Regions from separate parts of the Homo sapiens genome. Here region 2 is linked to region 1. Evidence: promoter capture Hi-C in 16 types of primary human blood cells and fetal thymus (Javierre and others, 2016). All regions are on one chromosome and are shown on one strand. The core of a region is centred on a gene start or on the middle of the fragment in contact, and the rest is flanking DNA. Distances in the headings are between cores, read along the strand shown.

Region 1 (6,654 bases), core at 3,549-6,048:
TGGAAAATGGCACCTGCAGACGTGCTCGCCAGGTTGCTCCGAGCCTCCTCCCTGTGAACACAGTATCAGTGAAGCACCATAAAATGAGGTGTGCCTGTAAAACTCACTCAATGCCCAACTTCAAAGGCACAATAAAAGCAGGAAACAGCCACAGCAACTCATGAAGGTATATGTGTGCAGAATGTATTTTCATAAAGTCCTTACATCCTTCAAAATACCTAGTTTGTCAGAAAATAGGCATTAAAAAAAAAACCTTGGGCGGGCGCGGTGGCTCATGCCTGTAATCCCAGCACTTTGGGAGGCCGAGGCAGGCGGATCACAAAGTCAGGAGATTGAGACCATCCTGGCTAACACGGTGAAACCCCGTCTCTACTAAAAAAAATACAAAAAATTAGCCAGGTGTGGTGGCGGGCACCTGTAGTCCCAGCTACTTGGGAGTCTGAGGGAGGAGAATGGCGTGAACTCGGGAGGTAGAGCTTGCAGTGAGCCAAGATCCTGCCACTGCACTCCAGCCTGGGTGACAGAGTGAGGCTCTGTCTCAAAAACAAACAAACAAAAAACCTTAGTGAGTAGAGTAGCGGGTATGAACGAAGCAATCTGAAAATATCTAGTCACAGTTTATACTGCACAGAAGAATAGACTGCTGTGTAAGATGCCACGAGACACACAAATGACTAACACAGCCAGAAATAGAAGCTGTTTTGTGGGTTAGACCTGAATTCCGGCCCTAAACAAACTCCTGTGCAGCACGGCAGTTACTCGATTCTCTCCATTCTGCAAACAGCATAAAACGCGAGAGTTTGTGCCACCTGGGGGGTCTGTGCAGCTCACCCTGACCACCTGACTGACTTACAAGGCCAAACTTAACCAAACTTCTTCCAGATGAAGCTTGTCACAAATTTGACTTATGTGTAACTGTCATCAATCTGTCCCAGCTGTTGGTACCACGCCCCGGCATTCAGCAGCGGAGGATGCCCGGCTCCGTGGTGCATCCTCCAGCCTGCTGGGTGTCTGCTATTGGGACCTGCAGGATCCCCAGGAACCTTTAGAACTGGTAAGGTCAGAACTGATGGGCCTCTGAAATCCCAAATCTAACGCCAGAGTCCACATACTGTTCAATAGCAAACACTTAAAAAACAACTCAGTGTTGGTGAGGGCCTCCCTGATGGCCACCGTCTAGGCCGACACAAGCCTCTGCGCAAGCCTCTGGGCACAGACATTCAAAGCCTTCGGTCTAGAAATTCAGCTTCTCTGGTTCCATCCTGAGGACACAGCTGAGGCACAGGAAGGGTTTCGTGTGCATTAAACAGGGTTCTGCCCTCACCCTGCATTTCCCCGTGTTTCCCCTGGAGAATGTACGCTGGTCACCTCCCACCCAGGCTTTTCCTCCAGCCCAGTTCTCCCAAGCACAAACCCAGGCGTCCACCTGCCCTTGACATCCTAGCAACATAAAGGCATCCAACACCAACGTCCTCCCCACCAAGACTGCCCCTCTCAGGACACGCCTCGCACCATCCACCACACCATCCTCACAGGCTCGGGACGTTTCTGCCTTCTCCGACATCGTGCCGGGCAGGCACACAAAGGGTTCCCACACACACGGAAGGAAGCGTGAGACACAGTGGGCGTCGGGATGTCTGCCCGGGAGCCGCGGATGCTCCCCAACAGCCCAGCAGACACACGGCCCACGCCCAGAACTAGCAAGTCTGCTTTCCAAACCCAGGCTGACCTACGGGAAATCATCTAAAAAACAAGAGAACACACTTCTGAATCAAAATTCTAGGACCCGCGGTTCCTGGGAAACTGTCCGTAGATGCTGACTGCACTCACTTTATTCGACATCTGCTGACAGTGCTGCTCGGTTGTGTGAATCAACGTCTGGTCCAAGTCCACCATGAGCACCAGCTTCCGGTTTCGGTGCAGTCGCTGCTGGTCTTCTCTTCCCAGCTGTTCAGCTTGCTACAATTAAAAAGAAACAAGAAATGACAAAGTCAGTATGTTTGCATCCAAGGTAAAACTCCATTTCATCGAGAAACACAAAACTATATCAATGTGTTCCCCTCCAGCCCCCCACGCTCCATGGACTGCGCCGTACAGGCCGAGAGGCAGGGCTGGGTCACCAACCTGGTCACGGCAACCTCGCTTGTGACCACAATTTTATAATTCAGTTAAATACATGAGCCAATGAAAACGGAGGGGGAAGGGAAACTGGTTGTTTCTATAAAAGCTGGATTCAACAGTATGGAGTGCTCAATAAAAGTGAACTGCAAAATTAATGAAGAAACCAAGTCGGCCGGCTGGGAGACGCTGGGTGGCCCAAGCTGGGCAGCAGAGACTGGTAAGGGCAATGCGCTCAGAATCTCCCGCGCTCAGAACCTTCCACGCTCAGCCTATTCTTGTGCCTCGAAGAGACCCGGGGGCCTGGCAACAGCGCATCGGGGTGTCCCTCCACGCGGGGCCCAGAGTGGAGCTCCTAACAAGGGCCCGGTCACCCCGGCATCAGGAGCCCGGCATGGGACACGGGATGTGACGCACCACGCTGCCTTTCTCACTGTAACTGGCCCTCACTCTTCACAACAAAATCCTGGTCCCGCTCAGGGGGGACCTCCTCCCGTGCCCATCCCCGAAGGGAAACGCACGGAAGGGCTGGCAGGTGCCAGAAAGATGGGGGGTACTTCCTCCTCCCTTCACCCTCAAACTTGCCAGCTTTGGTTTACGCATACACATTTTACATTTGTTTAAAGTTTGGTAATTCAGAAAACCCAGAATCCTGTATCTGGCATTTTGCTTTTCCCATAAAAAGATAGACTGAAATTGGTGTCCATCATTTAAAAGCACGAATTTACTAAAATCGTAACACTGGAAAGTGTTTTACCTATTTACAAAACTGTGCAGCCCTGAAAGTCTGTAAGATCACAAACTAGTTTTTCTCAGCTCCCAGAGCATTTTCACCCACGGGGTGAAGCGAGGTCGGGGAGACGGTGTCTGCCTCAAGCACAGGAGGTGCCCGGAGCCGCTGACCCACAGTGCCCCAGCAACTCCTGAAATACATAAACGAGGCGTAGCACTCGAAGATAAAAACCCATCTCACTCTTAACTGGGCACGTGAACACCTGCCCGTCCTCTCCACCCTGCGTACCCCCCATGGGCTCTCCTGTCGGCTACAAGGCAAACACTCCTGGGACCCCCAACCCGCCCCTGCATGTGCCCACTCTCCCGAGCCAGCTTCCCAATGGTGCCAGCAGCAGCCGCTCCTGTAGCCAACAAGGTGCTACCAACCACGTCCCCCCGCCCCTACCCCCGGCCACCGACTCCTCGCCATTATCTGCCCCAATATGCGCTTTGCCCTCCCGGGTCATCCAGCACATGCCTCGGCAGCGCGGCCACCTCCTGAGCTCCATGAGCAGCTGTCACATCCCTCCCCAGTTAGGACTTGGCTCAAGGGAACCCAGGCTGAGCCTGGCTGTTCACAGCTGCGGCGGCAGCACCTGGTGTTCCCGACACGCAGGTCACACAGCCTCGGGGCCCTGAGTCGCTTTTGCAGGCAGACTTGTCTGTGGAGAACCAAGGGCAACCGTCCCTGCTTCAGGAAGGCCGCAGTCCCATAAGTCATCCGTGTGATGAGGGGTTGTTTCAGTAACGACGATGACAACCACACGTCCGTGCTTCTGCAGCCACCCTCCTCCTGCAGCCGCCCTCCTCAGAGCACCACGCTTCCCCAACACGCCGCCACTGATGCCCGGCTCACCTCGGAGCTCACCATCAACTCCGGCACGCTGTGCACCATGGACACGGTCGCCGTGGACAGCGGCACCTGCTGCTTCCCGTTCTTACTCTGCAACCTGCAAGTGCAAGGACAGGTTCAGGGCTTTCAGCTGAGTCTCTGCGCACAGATGCACACTGGGCTCTAAGTGACAGGATTCTAGCTGATGTTTTAACGGACACACGCTGCTATCTTAGCACAGACTTGATTCTGTCGGCAAACGTGGAAACATTCTCCACAGACAGGAAAACTGGTGGAAACACTGAGCTCGTGGCCACACTCATGAACACACAGAGCCATAGTCCTTCATGAAAACAAACTGCAAAGTCACACAGAAGCAGAAACAGGCCCTCAACCATGAAAACGCAGAAAAAGTAGCTGCCGCACCTCCCACTTGGCATTAGAGGTAAAGCAGCCCCCAGCATGGGGCGCTCAGCGGCCCAGAGGGAGGGGCTGCTCCAGGCACTCAGCGATCTGCGTCTTCAGTCAGGAGAAAACAGGTCTCGGCCCTCCAGCATGCCCCCCCACCACACCTGAGAATGGCATGAGGCTGGGGTCACAGAGCAGGAAGGACTGCCTCCAGGGAAACCCATTGAGTGTGACTCGTATGGGGCCCAAGGGAGGCGTCTGCATCTGCCGCTGGGAAACCAAGGGCCTCACTGTGTTCCCAGCACAGCTTCTCGGACTCCCCGGAGGCCACCACCTCGAGCCCCAGCAGGCAGCGATCTCACTCTTCCGGATACTTACTGGGTGAGGTCTTGGCCACATTCAGCACACAGGCCTTTCATGACAACCGGGTGGCTGCATCCTTCCAACCTCACCAGAACCGCTCTACAAAAAAACACAAGGGGAACAACACTTTAAAATCTCTTGGTTTATCAAAAGAGCCCCCAAGTAAGAATTTTAAAATCTAGGTTTTTGTACCAATTCTACACTAACCCTTGCATAACTTTGTAGGCAGGTGACATCACCCCTTGAGGGCATTTCTTTGTCTATAAAATGAAAGGACTTTCCACCTACAGGTGTCTCTCATGAAAAATGACACGCCACCACACCTCACCACCCCCGTGCCACCCGTGGAACAGCTGAAAAAACTAAGGATGTCTGGTCCAAAGAGGAGACTTGGGGATAACATAAAGTTGTCTCAAAACACACTATTTATATGTGATCCTCTGACATTTCCGTTAGAGAATTTATAAAATCTAAAACTTTCATATCATTCCCAGTCTAGACAGAGGCTGATGCAACTACATTTTCCTGACAAAATGACTGTAATGTTCGTTTTATATAAACACAAACTGTTTTATTTGTCCAAACAGTGGTCTTCTGGCAGAAGCCATGGAAGAAGTGCTGAAATCTGAAGGCTATGAGACCAGAGGCCGCCTGGCACTCAGCGCCCGCCCCTAGGTGCCCTCAGCCCCCACACTCCCACCCCAGCCGGGCTGCTCCGACCGCCCCACCCTGCGAACATGAGACCACCCAGCACTCAGCGCCTGACCCTAGGTGTCCGCAGCCCCCACACTCCCACCCCAGCCGGGCTGCTCCGACCACCCCACCCCGTGGACATGAGACCGCCCAGCACTCAGCGCCCACCCCTAGGTGCCTGTAGCCCCCACACTCCCATCCCAGCCGGGCTGCTCCGACCACCGCGCCCCGCGGACACGAGGCTGCCCGGCACTCAGTGTCCCTAGGAGCTCGCAACCCCCACACTCCCGTCCCAGCTGGGCTGCTCCGACCACCCCACCCCGTGGACATGAGACCGCCCAGCACTCAGCGCCCACCCCTAGGTGCCTGTAGCCCCCACACTCCCATCCCAGCCGGGCTGCTCCGACCACCCTGCCCTGCAGACATGAGGCCGCCCAGCACTCAGCACCCGCCCCTAGGTGCTCACAGCCCCCACACTCCCGTCCCAGCCGGGCTGCTCCGACCACCCTGACCCGCGGACATGAGACAGCCACCCAAGCTGCATCTGTCAATGGGACCTTTCCAGGCGGGATGCCCCATGGCCCACCAAGACCCCCAGCCATGTCATCGAGAGGGCGCAAGGATCAGGCCACAGGCGGAAACAAGGCGGAGCCACATCCTCCATGCCCACTGTGCCATGGCAGGCTGTGCTGGGAGACTGGGAGGGGCGGGTCTGCAGCCTGCATCCTGCAGGGGAGCGGAGGGGCGGGTCTGTAGCCTGCATCCTTCAGGGAGACTCGGAGGGGCGGGTCTGTAGCCAGCATCCTGCAGGGAGAATGGGAGGGGCGGGTCTGTAGCCTGGAGGGGAGTGGAGGGGAGTTCTTCCTGGGGAGGAGGATGGGCGTGTGCGGATCACCCTGGAGGAGGAACGGTGCTGAGGACACACGGTGCGGGGCTCCGAGCCCTCGGGGATGGAGTGGGCTGCCGGTGACTATCAAGAATCTGAGCTCCTCCGGGTCCTGGGCCTGTGCGTACACAGTGCATGTGCAACACAAATGGATTCCGCGTTTACTCACGTCCCATCCCCAAGACATCTCGTCATGTATACGTGCAAATATTCCAAAATCCAAAAAAACCCAGAAATCCAAAACACTTCTGTTTCCAAGCAGTTTGGATATGGGAGACTCAACCTGTATCAGGTTTTTTTCTTAAACCAGACAACAAAATAGTGACACCTTGTTTGAAAAAGTGTGTTAAACTTTCTAAGGTGACAAGTATGATTTCCTTAATTTTATCAAAATACTTTACAATGAATGATTAGAGTTCTGCCCTAAAATGCCCCAATGAGCAGAGACTTAACCTAAAAACCCAATCTCTGAAAAAAAACAAAAACAAAAACAAAAAAAACGCACAAACCCCACACTGGACCATCCTCCCTCCCGGTCACCACACCTGCTCAAAGACACTGCCAGGCTTCACAGGCCTCA
Region 2 (6,088 bases), core at 967-3,466, 290 kb before region 1:
GTGATGGTTGCATAATATGAATGTACTTAATGTCCTTAAAAATTAAGGCGATAAATCTTGTTATAAGTAACACAATAAAAAATGAGTTTCAATAAATTATTTGGGGACATTTGAGTCTTATGCCTTAGCTTGGAACAACTCTCCTGTGAATAAAATGCTTGTGATGTGTTAAGCAACTGTGTTTGTATCTGAAATGAGTGACTACCAAAATGACGGTAAGGAATTTTTTAGAAGGCAATAGCCTGACCTTAGTAAGGGCTCAGATTTCTCCAGTGTGTACCTGGTGCCAATGAAGTACAGGAGATTTTGTTTTATCATCCCATCTCATGGATGAGGAAACTGAAGTTTGTTGAGATAACTTATGCAAGGCACAGATGAACCTGAACACGCCTTTATGTAACTAAAACCCTCACTGTTAACCACTATGCTTATATTCTGTGCCTCTGCTTTACTCAATTATAAAATGAAAGAGATTTAGATGATCTCTAATATCCTACCAACCTGAAATTGTTTCATTACAATAAAGCATTTCGTATATAATTGGGAAATATTCTGTATTATGTAAAAAGCTTAATCTGGCAGTGAGCTGCACTTGTGATTCTAGTATTTAAATTGTGGGTGCATATTATCAAAGCACCTTATGGTGCTGTGTCCCAGAGGAAACCAAACATGGAACCCATTTCAATCCCCATGCCAGCAGGCTCTTCAGACTGTAGTTCTCACCATGCCACAGCCCATCTGAGAGACACCACAGCATCTGCATAGTGATTTGTTGTTGTTTTTGAGATGGAGTCTCACTCTGTCACCCAGGCTGGAGTGAAGTGGTGCGATCTCAGCTCACTGCAACCTCCACCCCCTGGGTTCAAGCGATTCTCCTGCCTCAGCCTCCCTAGTAGCTGGGATTATAGGCGGGCGCCACCATGCCCGGGTAATTTTTTGTATTTTTAGTAGAGACGGGGTTTCACCATGTTGGCCAGACTGGTCTTGAACTCCCGACCATAGGCGATCCGCCGGCCTCGGCCTCCCAAAGTGCTGGGATTACAGGCGTGAGCCACCGCGCCCGGGCGTGATTTGTTTTAAATTTGTCATCTAAAGGACCACCAGGATAGCTAGATAGTAGACAAGAGTTTTACTATCAATATCAGTTTGCAAACCAGGGAGTCTCCAGCATGAACCCAAAGTGCTCTCTCAGAAGAACAGAGGTTAGAGGTTTTATTTTAAAAAGAGAAATATTAACTTATTTCTCTTTGAGAAAGTTCACTGGCACTAGTAAGGGTTTGGGGAGCTCTGACTGGTGAGCGAAGCCAGGGGGCCAGATCAGTCCTGGAGGTGGAAGTTATGCTGAAGCTATGGAATAAAACTGGCTTTAGGTCGGGCGCGGTGGCTTCTTCCTGTAATTTCAGCGCTTTGGGAGGCCGAGGCGGGCAGATCACTTGAGGTCAGGAGTTCAAGACCAGCCTGGCCAACATGGTTAAACCCCGTCTCTACTAAGTACAAAAAAACACTAGCCGGGCTGGCGCCTTGTAGTCCCAGCTTATGGGGAGGCGGAGGCAGGAGAAGCGCTTGACCCCGGGAGGCGGAGGCTGCAGTGGGCCAAGATCACGTCACTGCACGTCTCAAAAAAAAATTTTTTTTCTTTATAAAAAGACAAATTAAAAAACCTGGTTTCAGGTTACAACAGGCAGCTCAGCAGCCGGCCTGATGGTGACATTCCTCAAGGACGGCCTGCCCAGTGCTTCCTCCCTACCCCGCTGCTCGACTCTGCTGTGGTTGGGTATGGCAACAACGACACATTTTTATGATCAAGTTTCACAAATGACACACATGAACTGTCTTAGTAACACACAGAAACAAGCACCAGAAAGGAAGAAAACGAGCCGCAGTGCCGGGCATTCCGGGCCTTTCTGGACGTCCCCATCCGTGGCTGGAGGACAGCCCGGGCGGCGGCGGGCGGCCTCGGGGCGGGAGCGTGGGGGCAGGGCACGGCGAGCCCGGGGCTTCTCAGGACCACCAGGCCGCCTGGACGCTGGGGAGGAACCCCCACTCCGACAGCTGCTATGACGGAACCAACGGCGCTCCACGGTGCCCAGGTCGCCGCCGCTCCACCCGGCCAACTACACGTTCGCGCGGCGCCTATACGCACATGCCGTCAGCACGCACGGCGCTAGCGCGCGCGCATGCCGTCAGCACGCACGGCGTCGGTGCGTGCGCGCCCAGACGTTCTGCCGGGTGGCAGTCCCAGCGGAGTTTGCGTGTGCGGGCGGGACCGGATTTCGTCCGTGGGCCCGGGGGCGGCGGGGGCCGGGGAGTGAGGGGCCGGCTGAGCCCACCTCGCTGGGCCCTCCCTGGCGCCCCGCCTTGGGCGGCGGCGAGCGCGCGGGCCGCCATGTCGTACATGCTCCCGCACCTGCACAACGGCTGGCAGGTGGACCAGGCCATCCTCTCGGAGGAGGACCGCGTGGTCGTCATCCGCTTCGGCCACGACTGGGATCCTACGTGCATGAAGATGGACGAGGTCCTGTACAGCATCGCCGAGAAGGTAGCGCGCCGGACTCTCCCGCTCTGCGGGCTGTGCTTCCGCATCTGCCCCGCGCCTCTGCCCTGCCGGCGTCGCCTGGGGGCGCGAGCTGTTCCCCGAGGAGGGGCCGCGGCTCCGTCGTTCAGGCGATTCCTCCCCTCGCTGCGGTCGAGCGCTCTCGGGGACTGTGCCGGCGTTTCACGCCTTTTTCTGCGGGGAGCTCTTGTAGTTTTTCATATTTTAAAGGGTTTATGATCCCCCTCCTCTCAAATGAATTAATTATTTCTGTTGATAAGGCGTTTTTCCCAAACTTATAGTTCAGTGAACAAAATGCACTTGCAGGTTTTATTGAGAGCGCGGATCCTTAATTTAAAAGGACGTCTTTTTTTGGTACCTGAGTTATTCGTTGTATGCATAAAGCAGGACTTTCATGTTCATAGCATGAGAAATCCTGCTTTTCTGTGGGTGTGTTTTTTTATCCCACCACGCTTTTTGTGAGTCATGTGGTTTACAGCTTACAGTGATTGAGGTGCAGTAAACATCAGGAGAAAATAGAAATATGCTTTGTTAGAATTAGTTCTCTGAATTTCTAATATTAGTACACTGAGTGGTCTTGGCATTTACTTGCTGACAATAAAAGTTGTAGGACACTATTTTATAACCAGATTTCATTCTTTTTCTGTGGTTCCTCATAGCAATTTTAGGATGACTTTTATTGAGGTTTTGCAGCTGTAGCAATAGGGCAAAGGGCACAAATACTAGGGTGTTAATAAAATATTTGCCATATTAATTTTCCATAAGTAATTTGAGAGGTTATTCCTTTTAATGAAGAGTAAAAGTAACATTGAAGCTATCTTTTCTTTCACAGATGCTAAAAAGTAGGCCTGGGTTAAAATAACTCCTTTGAGTAAAGAGTAACAGATGTAAGGACATATTTTATATTCAGGAAAGGAAAGACTATCTGGCCTGCCATTTATTAATTTTTGCTATTTCTTATTTAGTAGGAGAGGCATGAAGTTAGGAACTGTTGTTATATTTTAGTTATTACAAGACTCCCTTGGAGTGCTTACTAGAATGCATCTGTGATTCTGATTCTATGGGTATGGGGTGAAGTCCAGCAATGGCTTTTTAAAGAAGCCCCTCAGGGAATTCTGATGCGACTTGACCTTGAACCACCTTCCATGGGGGTCAGGGATGGAGGTGGAGTAGCTTTAGTACCAGCCATCTCGCAGCCTCTTCCTCCTGGACACTGAGGACTTGAGGAGGGACCTAGGGAATTCGGGAGAGCAGCAGTTCTCTCACACGCTGGGGGTTCTGCCAGCCGGGGATTAGAGATGATGAGAGAGGCAGTGCCACACATCAGTTTGTCATTGCTTGAGCTGTAGTGGACAAGGGCAGATACTGGAAATCCAGCGAAGAATTGACTAAGAGCAGTTTCCCAATAAGTAAATCACTGCTGTATTGACTTTGAGTTATGAATTCTAGAATCTTTCACTGTTCTACATTGCAGGTGGTGGCATAAACATCGGGTGGTGTTCAGATCCTGCTGCCGGCAGCTCGAGGCTAGGATGGCTGGAGATGTGAGGGCCTTTGTCTCATCACATCCGAGCACAGCTCAGCAAGATGCTCTTAGCTAGAAAACAGATTTTATGTGTTAATGTAAGTGTTTAGGGTCTTTGCCAGATTTGCTCTTTTCCAACTCCTTTATGTCCAATTTCTTTGTTATTACAGAATGAATCACTGTATCACTAGTGGACACACATAGTGGACACACACTTAAGGACAGTTGAAATGGGCTCACTTTGGGGTATTTTTTTTGGTCTTTTAAAATAGTCTGATTTTTGTTTTTGTCCAAAAATTTGGATAGCTTTATTAATAAACTTTTAATGCGAATATTATAATATAGTTATTAAAAGGGCAAACCTAGGCCAGGCGCGGTAGTTCATGTCTGTAATCCCAGCACTTTGGGAGGCCAGCGTAGGCGATCACTTGAGCCCAGGGATTCGAGACCAGCCTGGACAATATGGTGAAACCCCTTCTCTACTAAAAGTACAAATGCCGGGCGTGGTGGCACGTGCCTGTAGTCCCAGCTACTTGGGAGGCTGAGGTGGGAGAATCACCTGAGCCCGGGAAGTCAAGACTGCAGTGAGCCATGATTACACCACTGAACTCCAGCCTGGGCAACAGGAGTGAGACTCTGTCTCCAAAAAAAAAAAAAGTGCACACCTGAAATGCATTAAAAGAATATTCATGTTTTATTTTCTTCTTAGTCTATGGGCAAATATGACTTCCTAATTCTGGAAGCCCTTTTTTGGAGAAGCTCAACAGAAATTTTTGAAATATAAGGTTTTAGTATAAAGAACAATATAACTATTTAAAAATTTCCCTGTGCAGAAATGGCAGATAATGGGGACTCTTCCTTACCTTGTTCCGAGTTCTGTCTGGATATTCCAGCTGTTTTAAAGTGAGTAACAGTTGCAAATGTTCAGGCTGGACTTGATATGATTTTTCCTAGATGTGTTGTATTGATTTGCTGCTTCCACAGGGCCCACTTGACTTCATGCTGGATTAGAGTTGAGCTGTAAACTTCAGGAATAAAGTCAGTTTGGAAACAGAGCTATGCTTAAAAGATTTCACAGATGCCTAGAGTTTGCTAATAAATGTGGGGCAATTCATTTGATAAAGTGATAATAATAAATAAAGTTTTCATCTGGGCACTGTGTCTCACGCCTGTGGTCCCAGCATTTTGGGAGGCCGAGGTGGGTGGTTCCCTTGAGCCCAGGAGTTCGAGAACAGCCCGGGCAACATGGTGAAACCTTGTCTGTACAAAAAATGCAAACATTAGCTAGGCGTTGTGGCATGTGCCTGTGGTCCCAACTACTTGGTAGGCCGAGGTGGGAGGATATGAGTCCAGGAGTTCAAGGCTGTGACAAGCCGTGATCGCGCCACTGCATGCCAGCCTGGGTGACAGAGCGAGACCCTGTCTCAAAAAAAAAAAGTTTTCTATTTAGCAGCTGATTTTATGCAGTTTTGAAGCGAGACAATTTCATGTACGAGCTGTCTTTCCATTTTGTAGGAACACTGTCACAGGAGACAATTTCATGGACCTTTGAGCTGTCTTTCCATTTTGTAGGAACACCATCACAGGAGACAATTTCATGTACCTTTGAGCTATCTTTCCATTTTGTAGGAACACCGTCACAGGAGACAATTTCATGGACCTTTGAGCTGTCTTTCCATTTTGTGGGAACGCCGTCACAGGAGACAATTTCATGTGCCTTTGAGCTGTCTTTCTATTTTGTAGGAACGCTCTCAGAGGGGACAATTTCATGTGCCTTTGAGCTGTCTTTCCATTTTGTAGGAACACTCACAGCAGTGCTTGGGGTTCACTGTTACCTAAATCCCATGATGGGTGAGAAGACTGAATGGGACGTTTATTTTTTGTGTTAAAAAGCCCACGCAAATAGAGTTTAAAATAGTCTCAGTGAGCTGGGCATTGTAGCATGTGCCTGTAACCCCACTACTCAGGAGGCTAAGACAGAGTATGAGCTCAGGAGGTCAAGGCTGCAG

What was found. Contacts are between HindIII fragments. The CHiCAGO score rates a contact against its expected background, and 5 or more counts as called.
Region 2: the fragment with the promoter of TXNL4A here is called in contact with a fragment that was not itself captured in region 1 in 2 of 17 cell types (naive CD8 T cells and M2 macrophages); the score reaches 5.3 in naive CD8 T cells.

Annotation. Positions count from the first base shown.
Region 1 is chr18:79,693,165-79,699,818 of GRCh38, reverse strand. It overlaps CTDP1 (CTD phosphatase subunit 1), which reads right to left. Exons shown (of 13, transcript NM_004715.5): 2 at 4,511-4,594; 3 at 3,749-3,842; 4 at 1,831-1,959. Among named protein-coding and RNA genes, the nearest start is that of CTDP1, 17 kb to the right of the region's middle. RefSeq lists enhancers at 1,015-1,514, 1,515-2,016. The HindIII fragment of the contact is 7,815 bases long and covers 891-6,654 here.
Region 2 is chr18:79,984,691-79,990,778 of GRCh38, reverse strand. TXNL4A (thioredoxin like 4A) reads left to right here and starts at 2,216. Exons shown (of 3, transcript NM_006701.5): 1 at 2,216-2,539. The coding sequence starts at 2,387. RefSeq lists silencers at 1,834-2,123, 2,164-2,403. The HindIII fragment of the contact is 10,310 bases long and covers 572-6,088 here.